Linked DNA regions of Homo sapiens: region 2 is linked to region 1. Evidence: promoter capture Hi-C in human tissues and cell types (Jung and others, 2019). All regions are on one chromosome and are shown on one strand. Each heading gives the region's core, a stretch centred on a gene start or on the middle of the fragment in contact. The rest is flanking DNA. Distances are from core to core; before and after follow the strand shown. Region 1 holds the start of EFCC1 (EF-hand and coiled-coil domain containing 1). Region 2 has its middle 22 kb from the start of GP9.

What was found. Contacts are between HindIII fragments. The study calls those that stand out against the background at their distance.
Region 2: a contact is called between a fragment that was not itself captured here and the fragment with the promoter of EFCC1 in region 1, in 2 of the 25 tissues and cell types used here (H1 embryonic stem cells and adrenal gland).

What each region holds. Positions count from the first base shown.
Region 1 is chr3:128,997,617-129,005,533 of GRCh38, reverse strand. EFCC1 (EF-hand and coiled-coil domain containing 1) reads right to left here and starts at 4,230. Exons shown (of 8, transcript NM_001377500.1): 1 at 3,210-4,230; 2 at 1,457-1,740. The coding sequence starts at 3,905. It also overlaps a transcript of CFAP92 not described here. The HindIII fragment of the contact is 14,506 bases long and covers 1-6,559 here.
Region 2 is chr3:129,079,259-129,087,175 of GRCh38, reverse strand. No RefSeq gene overlaps it. Among named protein-coding and RNA genes, the nearest start is that of GP9, 22 kb to the right of the region's middle. The HindIII fragment of the contact is 5,949 bases long and covers 1,568-7,516 here.

The sequences.
Region 1 (7,917 bases), core at 2,981-5,480:
TCTGTCACCTCCTTACTTAAAACTTTTCCATGGTTTCATGTTCTTTCTCTTAAGGGAAAAACTGAAATCCTTGCTGCCACCTTCCAGGCCCTAAATGGGCCTCCCTTCAGCTCTACCCCTCCAGCCACTCTGGCCTCCTTTTAGTTTTTGAATGGTCCCTTCTGCCCTAGGGCTTTGCCCGTACTGTTCCAATTTTCTAGAATGGAATGTTCTCTCTTCTCCTCTCTCCATCTGGCCCGGTAACATCCTATCCTCAAGTGTCACTTCTTTGGGGGCAGGCTGATGAGTGTCCCCCACCTCCTGCCTGCTGCCACGCATCTGTTCCTGTGAAGGTCTCACCTGCTCACAGGTGGCTGCTCAGGGCAGGGAATTCAGTCTGTCCTAGTCACGTGGTCACATCCCTGATGCCTGGGATGGCCCCTGGCACACAGAAAGTGCTCAGCAAATGTGTAGTCAGGCCGGCCAGCAGGCAGGGGTGACTTGTGATTTGAAAGGGAGAGAGGCTCTGTCTACCAAGCATCTACCATGTGCCAGGCAGGACCTCATGGCCTCTTCACAGCCACTCCCACAGGCAGGGACCCCAATCTGTGTTCCACCCAAGAGGAAGCAGGGTCTGTGAGGGGTGGTGACTTGCCCACACTCACACGTCTGCCAAAAGCCCTGCCAAGATTTGAACCTGGGTCCCAAGTCCAGCTTCCTGCCCTGGTGGAGCTAGCACAGGCAGTCATTACACACCTGTTTCCTCATCTACAGAGTGGAAACATAGCAGTACCCACCTCACAGGGCAGCTGTGAGGCTTAAATGAGTTAAGCCACATAAAGTACTTAGCTCAAGGCCTGGCAAACAGCGAGTGCTTAGTAACTGTAAGCTATTATCATTATGATCGAATCCAGGAACAAATAAGAATGAGCACATTCAACTGCAATCTATGATAAACAAATAGAGGGTGTTTGTGGATGAACAGGAGGATGGATGGACGGCTGGCTGGCTGGGTGGGTGGGGGGATGGATGGATGATGGATGGGTGGGTGGGTGAGTGGATGGGTGGGTGAGTGAGTGGATGGATGAATAGATGGATGGACGGGTGGGTAGGTGAGTGGATAGGTGGATGGATGAATGGGTGAGTGGATGGATGGGTGAGTGGATGGATGGGTGGGTGGGGGGGGTGAGTGAATGGACAAATGGATGGATGGATGGGTGGGTGTGTGGGGTGGGTGAATGGATGGACAGATGGATGGATAAATGGATGGGTGGGCAGATGGTTGCAGAGCAAGCAATGGAGCAGACTTATAACTTAAGAAATGGAGAACTGACAAAGGAATGAAAGAATACATGAATAAACGCATGGAGAAACTGCGGAACACGAGAGCGCGTGGGAGGGGGATTGCACACCCGAAGTTTGGGAAAATGGGAGCCGAATTGGGGAACTTGGGCCCAGGGCACGCGCCCCCGCTCACCTGTAGCGTTGCAGCTCCGCCTCCAGCCGCCGCACCCAGCGCTGCAAGCCGGGCACCTGTTGCGCCAGCGCCTCCAGCTCTCGCACGCGGTGCAGGCTGCGCAGCACCACCTGCCGGGCCTCCTCCGCGCGCCGCCGCACCTCGGCCTGGCCACGGCGCAGCCGCCCAGCGCGGGCCTCCGCCGCAGCCAGGGCGCCCTGCGCCTGACGCAGCTCCCGCACCGCAGCCTCCGGCCCGCCGTGCCCCATCTCGTGGGTGCTCGCCTGGCTCTTCCAGAGTCCGACCTGCGGGGACAGGGCAGCAGGGGCAGGGGGTAAGTGCCCCAGCCAGATGCACCAGACGAACGCCCGCCACGACGGCGGCCCCATGCCTCTGCACCCAGAAGCGCTTGAGCACGTTTCTTGCGCCGTCTGCTTCCGGGTGCCAGGCCCTTAGGTCCGGTGCGTCCAAGCTCCTTTAACCCTCGCCACATCCCCAGGGAGGCCCAAGCTCTGATTCCTCCTCATCCCCCACCCCCCAACGTTTTTTCACTGAAGGAAACTGAGACACGACGCCTGTATTCTGTTCCCTCTATAGTACCAACCTCGCGACTCTTCTCGGCCTACTGTATTGGCGGCGTTCAGCCTGCCGGGTGGCGGTTCCTCATCTCCTAGACTCCCCCCAGTGGCATTTCCAGCCCTCCCCGTGCCTGCTCACTAGAGGCTTTTGAGGGTGGTTTCTATCTGTCTTTACTGGTGTGTTCCCAGAGCCTAAAACAAACCTGGCACATAGTAGGTGCTCAATAAATACCAAGCATGAGAGATGCCGGAAGACCGTTCAGGCGCATCCCATGGCTCCCAGTACGTTACTTGGGATTCCACATCAGAGGAGTAGTTTCCCGCCTCCACCCTGGCTTCCATGCACACTGACACTGAAAACCACACCTTGCCACTTCCCTGCACTCTGCAGTGTCCTGAGCTAAGGCGGGGTCATATAATGTCAGTTTCTTCCTGGCCTGTTGTCGCCTGGGGTAGGGGCTGTTCCTTTCCTCCTCTGACCCCTGCGGCCCAGCACTGCCCTTGGTGCTCGGCTGGCACAGTGCTTAAGTGTTTGTCGACGGCTCCCAGATGCTAAGGCTGGGTCCCTATCTCACCCCATGGTTTCTTCTCAATAGCCCAGAGCGGGTCTGGTTCCCGCAGGCACTTGGTGGCCCGTGAGTGCCTGATCCACAGTGTGAGCCACATTGTCTGTTTCTCACTTGTCTCTGTTTCTCCCACAGGGAGCCCCATAAGTCTTTGCTGATTGACAGAAGGAGCTGTCAGTCTACCCCAGGAGGCAGGGATATCCCTAAAGGTGAGGACAGGGCCTTCTTCACACTTCTGTCTCCTAAACCTCCCAGAAGCCTGGCAGGAAGGAGAGAGAAAGATGCTTGTTGAAAGGGAATATGTGAGACTACCCAGACAGGTGCAATTCCTAGGTTAAAGGGGCAAGACGCGATGATGTGGCGGTGGAGCAGAAAAGTGGGGTATGGTTGTTTGAGTGTGATTGGGGTTTTCAGGAATGGAATAGGTGGTAAGAATAGGGTTGGGGACTGGAGTGGAATGGGGAGGAACAGGGGCAAGATGCAAGTGTGCTGATGCGGAGTGGGATGGTGTGGGGCTGCCCTCTGTCTCCCCTTCCTCTGACTCTGTCCTGTCGGGCTCCGCAGCCAGCCAGCTTTTAGTTCGAGCCCTCTCCCGGGCGTTACCACCCTCCCTTCGTGGCCGGCGCGCACCTGCAGTGCTAGGCAGCGCGCATCACTGCTCTGCAGCGCGGCGCGCAGGTCCTCCACCAACTCGCGCAAGCTGCTATTCTCCTCCTCCAGCCGCGCAACGCGCTCACAGTCAGGACCGCTGTCGGGGCCAGGCGCGCAGGGCGGGCGGCGGCGGCGGCGCGGACGGCGCAGGCGGATCTGCGTCTCGATGTGCTCGCTGAGAGCGCCGCGGGGCAGCCGGGGCCCCGCACGGGTGCCGAAGTAGCCACAGAGGCGCGCGTGGAACTGGCGGAAGGTGAGCTCCGGCGGCTCGGCGCGCAGCGCCAGGCGCGCCTCTTCATCGGTATCTGAGTCCCCGTCCGTGGCCAACTCAGCGGCCGCATCCCCGGGGGTCACATCTCTGGAGTTCCCGTCACCTGCTGCCTGCCCGGCCGTGGTGGCCCCCTCCGCGCGCAGCCCCAGCACAGCGCAGAGCGCTCGGAAGTCGGCGCGGGGCAGACGGCCGGCGCCGCGGCAGTCCAGGTGGTGGAAGACCTCCTGCAGGTACTGGTCCAGGCCGGTGGCCAGCACCACGATCTCGTTCTCCACGCCGCGGTCCAGCCCGTAGTGGTGCGCCAGGGCGCTCAGCAGCCACTGCGTGCGCCGCGCAGGTCGCCGGTACGGGTCACCTCCCGCGCCCTCCATGCCGGCCTCCGCGCCCGTGCTGACCGGCTCCATCGCTGCGCCGCGCGCCTCGCTCCTCCGGTCCCTCCTCCGGTCCCTTCGCCCCGCCACTTCCAGGGGCGGCCCCAGAGTTTCTCGAAAGGAGGGGCTTAGCGGTCGCGGTCTGGTTGGAGCGGCGCCGGGGACCGTGTCCAGCAGCTGCGCTGGCCTCACAGTGCGTCTGGTTTACCCCAGTTGCTTTGGAGGGGCCTGGGGTAGGGGGTCCAGGAACCCCCGGGACCCCGGCAGCGCCACCAGTGCCCGGTCGGCGTCTGGGTCTGGCTTCTCCGCGTGACTCCCACGCTCTCCTCTCCTCACTCACGGGGCGTTCCTGGCGTCTGCGCTTTTCCTCCCACTCCCGGCCGTCCACTCTCAACTCCCTCCTCCCTCCGCCCCGCCCGCCTGGCGCGGAGAGTTCGCTCCGAGACCTGGGCGAGGGGTTGGCGCGGGATCCGAAGCCCAGGAGGGCCTTGGGGGTGGCGGCCTCGTCCGGTTGCTGGGGATGTGCCCCCACACCCAAGCGTCACTCTTCCCCCTCTTCCCGGAAGGCCTTTCGAGGGTTGCCTGGCAAGCCTGCTCTCGCCGCCCTGTAGCCGTAGGTGCGGAAAAGCCTCCCCTCCGCTTCAATTCAGCTACTGGGTTTCCGAACCCACTTCTTGTGCCACCATAGACCGTGCAAAGAGCCCCAAGTAGTAACTGGGAAAGAGAGGGAAACAGGCTTGGAGAGGCAAGGGGTCTAGGTTAGGGGCACCCCGCTGGTGAGAAGCCCATCTGAGACGAGCCCTGTGCTAACTGCTCTCTCCCGATCCCTGTTGGGGGTGGGGATAGGACTCTCGGGAAAGTGGTGTCTCCCGGCCCTGCCACCTTTGTGCCTGCCGGTGCTGACTTGGCAATGGGATCCGAGTTCCATCTCTTGAGCTGGGGTTAGGTTAACAGGTCGATGATTGGCTGATGTTTTTTTCTGGTGTTTTAGAACACATTTCTGGAAGATGAAGAAAAACCTGCTTCTCTGGTGAGTGCTAGACTGTGTTCCCTTTCTTTTTCACGAGAGGGGTGCAGTGATATTGTGATATTGTCCACCTGTTACCTGCACCGGGAACGGTTATCCAGCCACGGTACCCAGCCATGTTGGAGCAAGAGGCAGACTCTTCAGCTGTTCCTAGCTATGACAGAGACAGAATCTTGCCTTGTGGATAACTCTGTGAGTTTAAATGTAAAATCTTGCCGTTTGAAAAGCGATAGCATTCTGTCTCCTCTGCCACAGTATCCCAGAATCAGCACGTTGTCCATTTGGCAAATTCGTACTTGTTCTTGAAGGCTTTGCCCAGAGTACATATCTGCTGGGAAGGAGTTAGAGGCTTCTCCCCAAGCATTTTGGACATATTCTTTTAGGTTTGTTTTTAATTATAAAAGTAATGGCAATTTGACAAAGTTTTTACATCACGTCCACTTCTTGGCTTCTACCTTCGAAAGCCACTGTGCACAGGATGTTCACTGCATCATTGTTTATTACAGTGAGAAACTGGAGACAACCTGGTGTCCATCAAATCAGCTAGGACTCAGCAAACGAGGATGAGCGGACACAGCAAGCCACAAGCTGATTATGCACAACACTGATGCTTACATAACAAGAACAAAAACACACAAAACAATACTAAGTATTTTCTACTAGGACATGTGTATGTGAGTGCACAGAAGAAGATGGAGGGATTCATAAGTGGATTCAGTGGTTCTTTCTGCAGATGGGAGACACTGCAGTATTTCCCTTTTGTTAAGATGTTCTCATGTGTTTCTTTTTCTTGGCCGGTCGCGGTGGCTCACGCCTGTAATCCCACCACTTTGGGAGGCCGAGGCGGGTGGATTGCCTGAGGTCAAGAGTTCGAGAACAGCCTGGACAACATAGTGAACCACCCCCATCTCTACTAAAAATACCAAAAGTTAGCTGGGCGTGGTGGCAGGCGCCTGTAATCCCAGTTACTTGGGAGGCTGAGGCAGATGAATCGCTTGAACCTGGGAGGCGGAGGTTGCAGTAAGCTGAGATCCTGCCATTGCACTCCAGCCTGGGCGACAGAGCGAGACTCCGTCTCAAAAAAAAAAAAAAAAAAAAAAAAAGAACCTGATTTTATTTCATGTCAGCCCTAAGAGCTGGTAGCCCAGGCAAGAGTGCAACACCCTCCCCACCCCCCATCCCTGCAGCTGGTGAAGGAATCCTTTGAACAGTAGCTTTCCTGGGCCAGTCAATATTGAAAAGAAAGCTTTTAAATGTCTTGCTGGGAGCCGTTGCCGGCCTCCACTCCCCTACAGCTCAGGGAAGTAAGGGTTGATAATGGTTTGCTGTCAGGCCTGTCTGTCTGCCCTGCGGTGTTACCAGGCACCTCTGAAATAATTCTGGTTGCATCCACAAGGTTTTTGTTTAAGGTTCAAAGTGAGCAAACTCAGAGGTCTCCTTGCGTTCTTTTGTATGAGCTGGGGGGATGGGCGTGTGTCTGTGTGGGAGAGAGTCAGGGCTGTGGCAAAGAAATGATTTTCTGAAGTCAGTTCAGTATTGTTTGAGCCATTTCAAATAGTATATTGTTTAAAGTGTCTTTTAAAGGTCCGGGAAAATGCTAAAAAGCAAAAATCATCCACCATTCTGCCACCAAGAGAGGATCACTGTGTATTTCTGATGTATTTATTTCCAGACTTTTCTATGTATTTGGGCATGAAAGAACTTTTTGGAGTGATTGAAATACTCTATCTTCATGGTGTAGTGGTTGCATGACTGTGTACATCTGAATTTTACAGTGTGCAAATCGTAGCTCATTCAACTTGACATGAAAAGCACAGTGGAAAGGGCGCCATTGGGATCTTTCTTTGCACAGGAACTGAGCTTTGTAAACAGCTTGGCTGTGGTTTCTTTGCAGACACTGCTCCAGAGGCTGCTCTGTGCTCCCTGGGGATGAACTATAAGGTGCTTTGTCATCCCCCACAGATGCCCACTGAGGTGGTTTTCAGCTTTTCTCCGCAAAAACCATACTGTGAACAGTTTGTGCCATATCTTGAGTGATTTATTACTGGGCCAAGGAGTATACATATTTTATAAGCTTGTGGTATTATCAGCCTGTTTTTTGGAAACTTGTGTTGTTCTATCCAGAGCCCAGAACTGTCTGGGAATGTCCTTGGGCCATTATTTTCAGTGTCATAAAGCTTTTGGGTTTTTAGGGGTCTTGGTTAGTAGATTTGCTTAGTGTTCAGACACCAAGCTTTACTTCTATTAAAAATAGGCCTGTTGTTAGTCAAAGATTTCTTAGATACGACACCAAATGCATGATCCAAAAAAGAAAAAAATGATGAATCGGACCTTCATCAAAGTTCAAAACATTTGCACTTCAAAAGACACTATTAAGAAAATATGACGAACAAGAGACTAGGAGAAAATATTTGTAAAACATATGCCCAGTAAAGGACTTATATTCCGAATTTACAATGAACTCTTAACAACTCAGTAACAAGAAGACAAACAATCCAATCAAAAAGTGGGTGAAGATACAAACAGACATTTCACCAAAGAAGTTGTATAAATAGCCAACATGTGCATAAAACAATCTCAGTATTCTTGTTAGGGAAATGCACATGAAAACTATGATGAAATACTATATTATACTCATGAGAATAGCTGTAGTGAATAAAACAGGCAATAAATCTTGTCAAGAATTTGGAGAAACAGGAAACTTCATGTTGTTGATGGGAACACAAAATGATGCAGCCCCTGTGGAAGATAGTTTGGCAGTTTCTCAAGAAGTTAATCACAAAATGACCATACGACCCAACTCTTCCACTCCTAGATATCGACCCAAGAGAGATGAAAACACATCCACACAAAGACTTGTGTGGGAATGTTCATAGCAACGTTGTTCATAAATGTCTAAATGCCCAAGCCAAATGCCCATTAACTGATGAATGGATAGGCAAACTGTGGTCTGTCCATACAATAGAATATTATTCAGTCATGAAAAGGAATGAAATACTGACACATGCCTCAACATAA
Region 2 (7,917 bases), core at 3,293-5,792, 81 kb before region 1:
ACAGTGGCAGGAACAACCCACCCCATGGTCGAGGTTCCCCCCACCCCTGGATCCTGGGCTGAAGACATTTCCTACAGAGAAGTGTTCTCACCCCCTCTCAGACACAAACGCCAGTGTCCAGGGGCTCAGGGCCTGTGCCTGGGCTTTGGGGGGCTCTGACCTGTTGTTATTCCGAGTTAGGACTTAAGAACACCATGAGGGGCTCTTGCTTCTGTGATGTGACCAGCACAGAGATGTTACCAGGCACACAGTAGATGCTCAGCTTAGAGAAGTGCCTGAATCAGGTCTCTGGCACTGGGAAGCCCATGAAATCCATAGCCTGCCCACCAATATAATCAGGGGTCTATTCCTGGTCACTCAAATAAGGGGTTTTCTGCCGAAAGGGACTCTTAAACAGCAGGGCTGCTGGTTGGTCACCCTGAGGAAGAAGAGGGGGGCCTAGCAGTGCTGCACCACCTTGCCAAGCCTGAGACAAACTGACATGATGGGGCTCATAGCAGCCTGCCGTTGAAACCTAGGTGTGCCCTGACTGTCCTGTGGTTCTGGGCAGGTCACTTCTCCTCTCTGGGCCTTGGTTTCCTCAAACCTGGGATCCTATTCCCTGTCCCATTTGCATCCCGGGGAGCCCTGAAGAGACCCCAGGAGGGGAGTGCTTTATGCACTGAAGGCCTGGAACAGGGCACTGGAGGAGGAAGACCCAGAGCCCTGGCTCTCAAGACAGGCCTGGCTCCAGGCACCTGCCATCCTTCCCAGGGAGAAGGAAGGCCTGATGTCTGAACTCCCTCTTCTCTTCTGAATGCCAGGAAGCACCAGAGTGCGCGTGTGCCCCTTGTAAGTCAAACCCATAACCAGGCCTGTCTGAGCCCGGCCATCCGCACGCTCCCAAGAGGCTCAGACCTGGGTCAGTCTGTCCCTAGGGCCCTCTGAGGCCTCTACCCAAACAACAGGACTGCCCAGACCCCAGAGCAAACAGACAGCACAGGTCCACTCCTTGACTTCAAAGTATGGAAGCTGAGACTGGATCCCAGAGAGTCTTGCTCAAAGCCCCACGATGTTCACTTCTGAGCCCCCACCTGCACGCCCAAGCTGGGTGCTGGGTCCCAGAGGTGAGTCTGCCTTGCTGCCTCCAAGGGCTCCCAAAGCTCCAACCTGGACCCCACTCCTCCCTGCACACATTTGCCGCTGGGATTGGCCAGCCCCGCCCTCAGGGAAGCCAGGAGGCAGGGGGGCCCCTTCCCTGTCCTCACCTTCACCCTGGCTACTCCCATCCCCACCCAGCCCACCCACCTCCTGCCTGGGCCTCTGCCCCAGCCTCTTCCTGACCTGGTCCTGCCTGGGCATCTCCTTGTGGCTGCAGAGAGCATCCTCAAGCAAGACCCCTAGCCACAAGGTCCCGACTCCCTCACTCAAGACCTCTTCCACGGTCCTTGTGGCCCTCGGGCTCCTTAGAGAGGGCCCAGCATTGGCCACTCTCCCCTGACCTGGCCACACACAGCCACACGCTGCTCTGCCACCCCCAGTCTGAGCTGCTCCCCGCAGACCGACCATCTCAGGCCTCCTGTGGTGTAATGGGCTTCTCCAAGCCAAGAGTTCCTGTTCCCAAACATCCTGAGCTGGAGCCCCAGGCCCCAGGAACAGCCATCTGGCCCTGACCCTGAGCTCCCAGACACTCCTATGACCCTGCAGAGGGCAGGAGGCCAGGCCCCATCTTGCCCAGGGGTTGCAGCCGCTGACCATGGTTCCCCACTGGAGGGCTAAGTCCCAGCTCAGAGAAAGCTGTGGACTCAGCTCGTGTCCACTGTGTGCTTTCAGCGGGCCACGGTGCGGCCCACTGCAAGCAACCCTGTCTACAGCTCTGGCTACGGAGGCCGTGGTGGGTCGGGCTCATCCCCACCTAGGCTCCTGGGATCTGGTCCTGTCCTTGCCACACTTGGGCAAGGAGGTTTCCCTTTCATATCAGATTTTAAAAGATTTGTTTCGGCTGGGTGAGGTGGCTCACCCCTGTAATCCCAGCACTTTGGGAGGCCGAGGTGGGCGGATCACAAGGTCAGGAGATTGAGACCATCCTGGCTAACACGGTGAAACCCCGTCTCTACTAAAAACACAAAAAATTAGCTGGGCGTGGTGGCAGGCGCCTGTAGTCCCAGCTACTCGGGAGGCTGAGGCAGGAGAATGGCGTGAACCCGGGAGGCGGAGCTTGCAGTGAGCCAAGATGGCGCCACTGCACTCCAGCCCGGGCGACAGAGTGAGACTCTCTCAAAAAAAAAAAAAAAAAAAAAGATTTGTTTCTTAGCACAACAGTTGGGTCTGCTGTATTCTGGCCCTTCACTCTGCCAGGAAGCTCCACAGTCTGTGCTGGTTGGTGGCAAGCAGGAGAGGTGTGGCCCATTGAGAAGCCAGCACATGGCAGAGGAGGCCGGGAGAGGGAAGAGTGTGGCCAGGTGGCCCCGAGGGAGCTCCCTGGAGCCGGGTGAGTAGGGCCTGTCTGCTCCTGCCTTGCTCCACTTGTGGTCCGTGGGCCAGCAGCGTGGGTATCACCTAGGAGCCTATACAAAAATGCAGAACCTCAGCCTCTACCCCAGACCTCCTGAGTCAGAATCTGAATTTTAAGAAGATCCCCAGGGGGATCCTCATTGTGTGCACATGACCGAGGAACTCTGGTCAACACAGCCTGCTCACTGCACAAGCATGGCCCAGGGTCAGGCCCTGACATCCTAGAATTTTTGGTTTCTTCCATTGGCCTGAAGGATGTTATCCATTTATGTCTTGGTCAAGTGTCTTTTCCTTCCTTTCTACAAGTGCCAACTTCATCTGCAGACTTCAAGGTCAACGGGCTCACAGCGGCTGGGCGCAGTGGCTCACGCCTGTAATCCCAGCACTTTGGAAGGCTGAGGCGGGCAGATCACGAGGTCAGGAGATCGAGACCATCCTGGCTAACATGGTGAAACCCCGTCTCTACTAAAAAAAAAAATACAAAAAAATTAGCCAGGCCTGGTGACGGGCACCTGTAGTCCCAGCTACTTGGGAGGCTGAGGCAAGAGAATGGCATAAATCCGGGGGACGGAGCTTGCAGTGAGCCGAGATCGTACCACTGCACTTTAGCCTTGGTGACAGAGCGAGACTCCGTCTCAAAAAAAAAAAAAAGGCTCATGGCTTGCTCCTCAGCAAGGCTCAGACTCCATCCCATAGCCAGAGACAGCGCCATGAATGGAGTCAGCCATGAATGGAGTCAGCAGGACCCCTGCATCACCCTGACACCCAGACACTCTCCCCAGGGCACTTTCATCATCGAAGCGCTACTCTGCCTGGAAACATGCAAGCTTGTCATCCCTAATCATGTTTTTGTTGTTGTTGTTGATTTTCTTCATGTTACCTTGTCTAAGGCCTAATATGGTCCTTGATCTCTTCTTGATCCTTGACCAACTTGACGCTGTAGACTCTCTGGGCAGAAAAGACATAAATTCACATATAGATGCCAAATATGGTGCATTGTCAGGTGTGAGTAGATGTACGGCTGAAGGCTGCTCAATTTCCACGTCTAGAATCTTCAAACTTCTATCAGATCGGCGGCTACAGCCACCCAAGGTGATGGGGGCTGGTATTTATTGCGAGGTTTCTGTAAACTTGTATTGTTCTCAGCATTGTACAAGAATTCATAAGACAGTTTAGGTGCTTTGCCTCAAATTGCACATCTAGTCAGTGGCAGAGGTAAGATTAGAACCCTGTGCATCTGGGCTCCAGGGACTGGGCCTTAACCCTGGAAATCCTGAGAGTGGACATTGGGTATTTGAGGGTGAGACGGTGGCTGCAGCGACAGCTACCACATAATCAGGATTAGATTCAACAACATGGACATAATTCTAAATGAACATTTCTGAAAATAACACCCCTTATAGGGATCTCCCTGAAGGAAATTTTTTTTTTTTTGAAACAGGGTCTAGCTCTGTCACCCAAACTGGAGTGCAGTGGCACCATCTCAGCTCACTGCCACCTCCGCCTCCCGGGATCAAGCCATCCTCCCACCTCAGCCTCCCGAGTAGCTGGGGCCACAGGTGTGCGCCACCACACCTGGCTAATTTTTATATTTTCTGTAGAGATGGGGTCTTGCTATGTTGCCCAGGCTGGTCTTGAACTCCAGGGCTCGAGTGATCCTTTCACCTCAGTCTCCCACAGTGCTGGGTTCCAGCCATGAGCCACTGGGCCTGGTCTAAACTTTACAGTTTTCTGTAAGAAGTATATATTATGTTAGCTCTGAAAGAAACTCTGAAAGAGTCATGAAAACAATATAACATTTAAAAATGCTTATGATGCAGTATTCACTGAACGACTCAGAACACCAAAATATAGAAATTTGAAATGTTATGACTGATGTAAAAACTAGAGTCTGGGCCTGGCGTGGTGGCTCATGCCTGTAATCCCAGCACTTTGGGAGGCCGAGGCAGGTGGATCACCTGAGGTCAGGAGTTCGAGACCAGTCTGACCAACATGGTGAAACCCCGTCTCTACTAAAAATACAAAATTAGCTGGTGTGGTGGCGGGTGGCTATAATCCCCGCTACTTGGGAGGCTGAGGCAGGAGAATTGCTTGAATCCAGGAGGCAGATTTTGCAGTGAGCCTAAATCGTGCCACTGCACTCCAGCCTGGGCAACAGAGTAAGACTCCATTTCAAAAAACAAACAAAAAAAAAAAACTAGAGTCTGGATATGAGACGGTTAAGGGACCCTTAAGGTGGTTAAAGGACCCTTAATGTGGTTAAGGTAAGGAGGATTTAAACCCCAACAGGCAGAAACTTTCTTCCCTTTCTTCTTTCTCTCCTCTTCCTCTTCCTCCTCTCTTTTCTTCTCCTCCTCCCACCTTCCTCCTTCCTGGGCGGGGTGTGGGTCATCGTGGCTTTCTACATGTCCACTGAAGCTGTTACCTGTGTGATGCCAGTGAGCCCGCTGGACTCTGGCCGCTGAGTCCTTTCCAGATGGCACCGAGTCCCTGGATGAGACCCTCGAGTCCCGCACACCCCTCTGCTTCCTGGCACATGTCATACATTCTCCGCTGCAGACCTGGAGTCAGTCATTACTCCAAGGAGCCCTTGAGGGTTGTGTTGTTCTTAAAACAAACTTCTAAGTTCTCTCCTGTTCTTTGCCTGGCGTTCCTTTCTCCTGTTGTTTTAAACATTGTCTTCCATGTGAGGGCTGTTCCTCAGGTCTGGGGATTCCTGGAAGCCTGAGTGCCCAGATAGGGCTTATCAATGGGTGGACTTCTCCCTGTTGGGTGATTTTGGGCCCAGCTGCTCTTCCACTGGGGAGGGGTCCCCTAATGTCTGTAGCCAGAGAGAAGAGATCTTTTCCCTGAAGCATTTCCATTTCTCTAGCACAGGATCTTCTAATCTCCTTCCTGGGGGTGGTGGGGATGGGAGAAACCCCATTGCGTGCGCCGGGTAGCCAGTCAGGAAGGAAGCCAGGGTCCTGCGGCAGGAACTGTGGACGTTCCCGTCTATTTTTGGCCCTGTACCAAATTTTTGCCCTCCACTCTGCCTGCTTTCCCAAGGCTGGGGTTCTCTTTTCAATTTCTTAAAAAATGAACCCCTGCCCCTCAAATTTCCATTTGGACGGGGTGAAGCGGTGGTCCCTAGATGCAGAAATCAGGGAGGGGCCTGAGGGTTACAAATGCTGGGAGCTAGACTTCCAGGCAAGCCCTGATTTTCAGGCCTCTCTCGTGATCTGTGGCGATCCGCAGCATCTGAGTGCTGACCCCTGGGGATCCTGGGGGCACAGTGGCTGCTTCTCCTCAGGTTTCCCCCTGCCAGCCACACTGTGATCTGTGGAAGTGGCCACTGCCTCCATCCACTCTCCGCTCCACAGAAGCATGTTGGCCTCTCTTCCCCACAGTCACCTCCCCTCATTCCCTTTGTCCTTGTGGATTTATCCCTTTTTAAAAATAGGCCAGATGCGATGGCTCATGCCTGTAATCCCAGCACTTTGGAAGGCCAAGGTGGGCAGGTCACCTGAAGTCAGGAGTTCGAGACCAGCCTGGCCAACACGGTGAAACCCTGACTCTACTAGAAATACAGAAATTAGCCAGGCATGGTGGTGCACAGCTGTAATCCTAGCTACTCGGGGGACTAAGGCAGGAGAATCGCTTGAACCTGGGAATCAGAGGTTGCAGTGAGCCCAGATCGTGCCACTGCACTCTAGCCTGGGTGACAGAATGAGACTGTGTCTCAAAAATAAATAAATAAATAAATAGAAATTAAATTGAATTAAATTTAAAAAATAAAAATAACTGCCAAGGAATTCTGGTGGGGTGTGGGTAGGGAGAGGAGACCCCCTCTCCCCCATGTGGTCAATATGCCAAGTGTAGCTGGAAGCCTGGGGCAGGCTCCAGAGGCGTCCCCACAGCACAAGTTGTCTGTGATGGTTGTCTCTTGTGACAGTTGACCATATGAATTGGGTCACTCTTGTCACACCCAAATAAAACAGAGTCCAGAGGTGGGGGGCAGGAGGGTGGCACATAACACAGCTCCAGGAATGTCATTCTCTGCAGCCTGGCTGCTGAGGCTGTCTGCTCCAACCTGAAACCAGTTTTTTGTTTTGTTTTGTTTTTTTGAGATGGAGTTTTTGCTCTTGTTGCCCAGGCTGGAGCGCAACGGCGCGACCTCAGCTCACTGCAACCTCCGTCTCCTGGGTTCAAGCAATTCTCCTGCCTCAGCCACCTAAGTAGCTGGGAGATTACAGGCATGAGCCACCACGCCCGCCTAATTTTTTGTATTTAGTAGAGATGGGGTTTCACCATGTTAGTCAGGCTGGTCTTGAACTCCTGACCTCAGGTGATCCATCCGCCTTGGCCTCCCAAAGTGCTGGGATTACAGGCGTGAGCCACCACACTCAGCCAAAGCCAGTCTTATCTGATAGGTACTGATACCACCCGTTGCAACTCTAAGATGAGTTTCACTGGCTGTCACTCACCAGTCAGAGCTGGCCAGCGTCCCCAGATTTTACTGGTGCCAATGAACTTTCTGAAAAACAGTATGTACCATTTCTCCTTTTTATAACACCTCCAACCTCCTCTTTGTTCTTCAGACATATTGAAGACCACTTACTTGGTCTGTGTGTAAGACCCAAATCGCTTCCCACATAAAATGTTAAATTTAGAGATTTGTCTCTATATTTTAATCCTTGATTTTTACACTCTGGAAGATGCTCTTCTGGCTATACCCAGCCTTCTGCTGAAATCGCTCATGAGGCCTTTCAGGTGGTGTCAGCCTCATCTCTTCCTTTGTTAAGTTCCTCAGAAAGAAATTTGCCAAGATATTCATAGGATGAACTGAATTTAGAGTTCATCTGGGAGACTTGAATCTTGCTATCATGAATGGGTACATTTTTTGTTTATTCAAACCTTCTTTCTGTTCTCAACAATATTTTGCTATCATTGTTTTTTAACAAACCAAATTTAAAAAACTTCTTTTAGAGATGGAGTCTCACTGTGTCACCCAGGCCGCTCTCAAACTCCTGGCCTCAAGAGATCCTCCCGCCTCAGCCTCCCAAAGTGCTGGGATTACAGGCATGAGCCACCGCACCTGGCCAATTCAACTTTCTAAACTCAATGGAAGGAATGATTCTTCAGGTTATGATGGGAGTCCATGGAGCTTTTCCGAAGTGGAGGACATCAGGTGAAGAGTGTATTCCAGGCTCTGGCCTTGGTTGTATTGACTGACAGGTAGGTACAAACCCAGCAGGCTGGGTGAACCGCAGAGCCTGCCTTCCCTTTTTATTATGGAATCTTTGTAAACAGAAAGCCTCAAAGTTGCCTCCCATCCCCTCCCCTCCTGTCCCCTCCCCTCCCCTGCCCTCCCCTCCCTTCCTTTCCCTTCTCTCTTTTCTCTTCTCTTTTCTTTTTCTTTTCTTTTTTTGAGACAGGATCTCA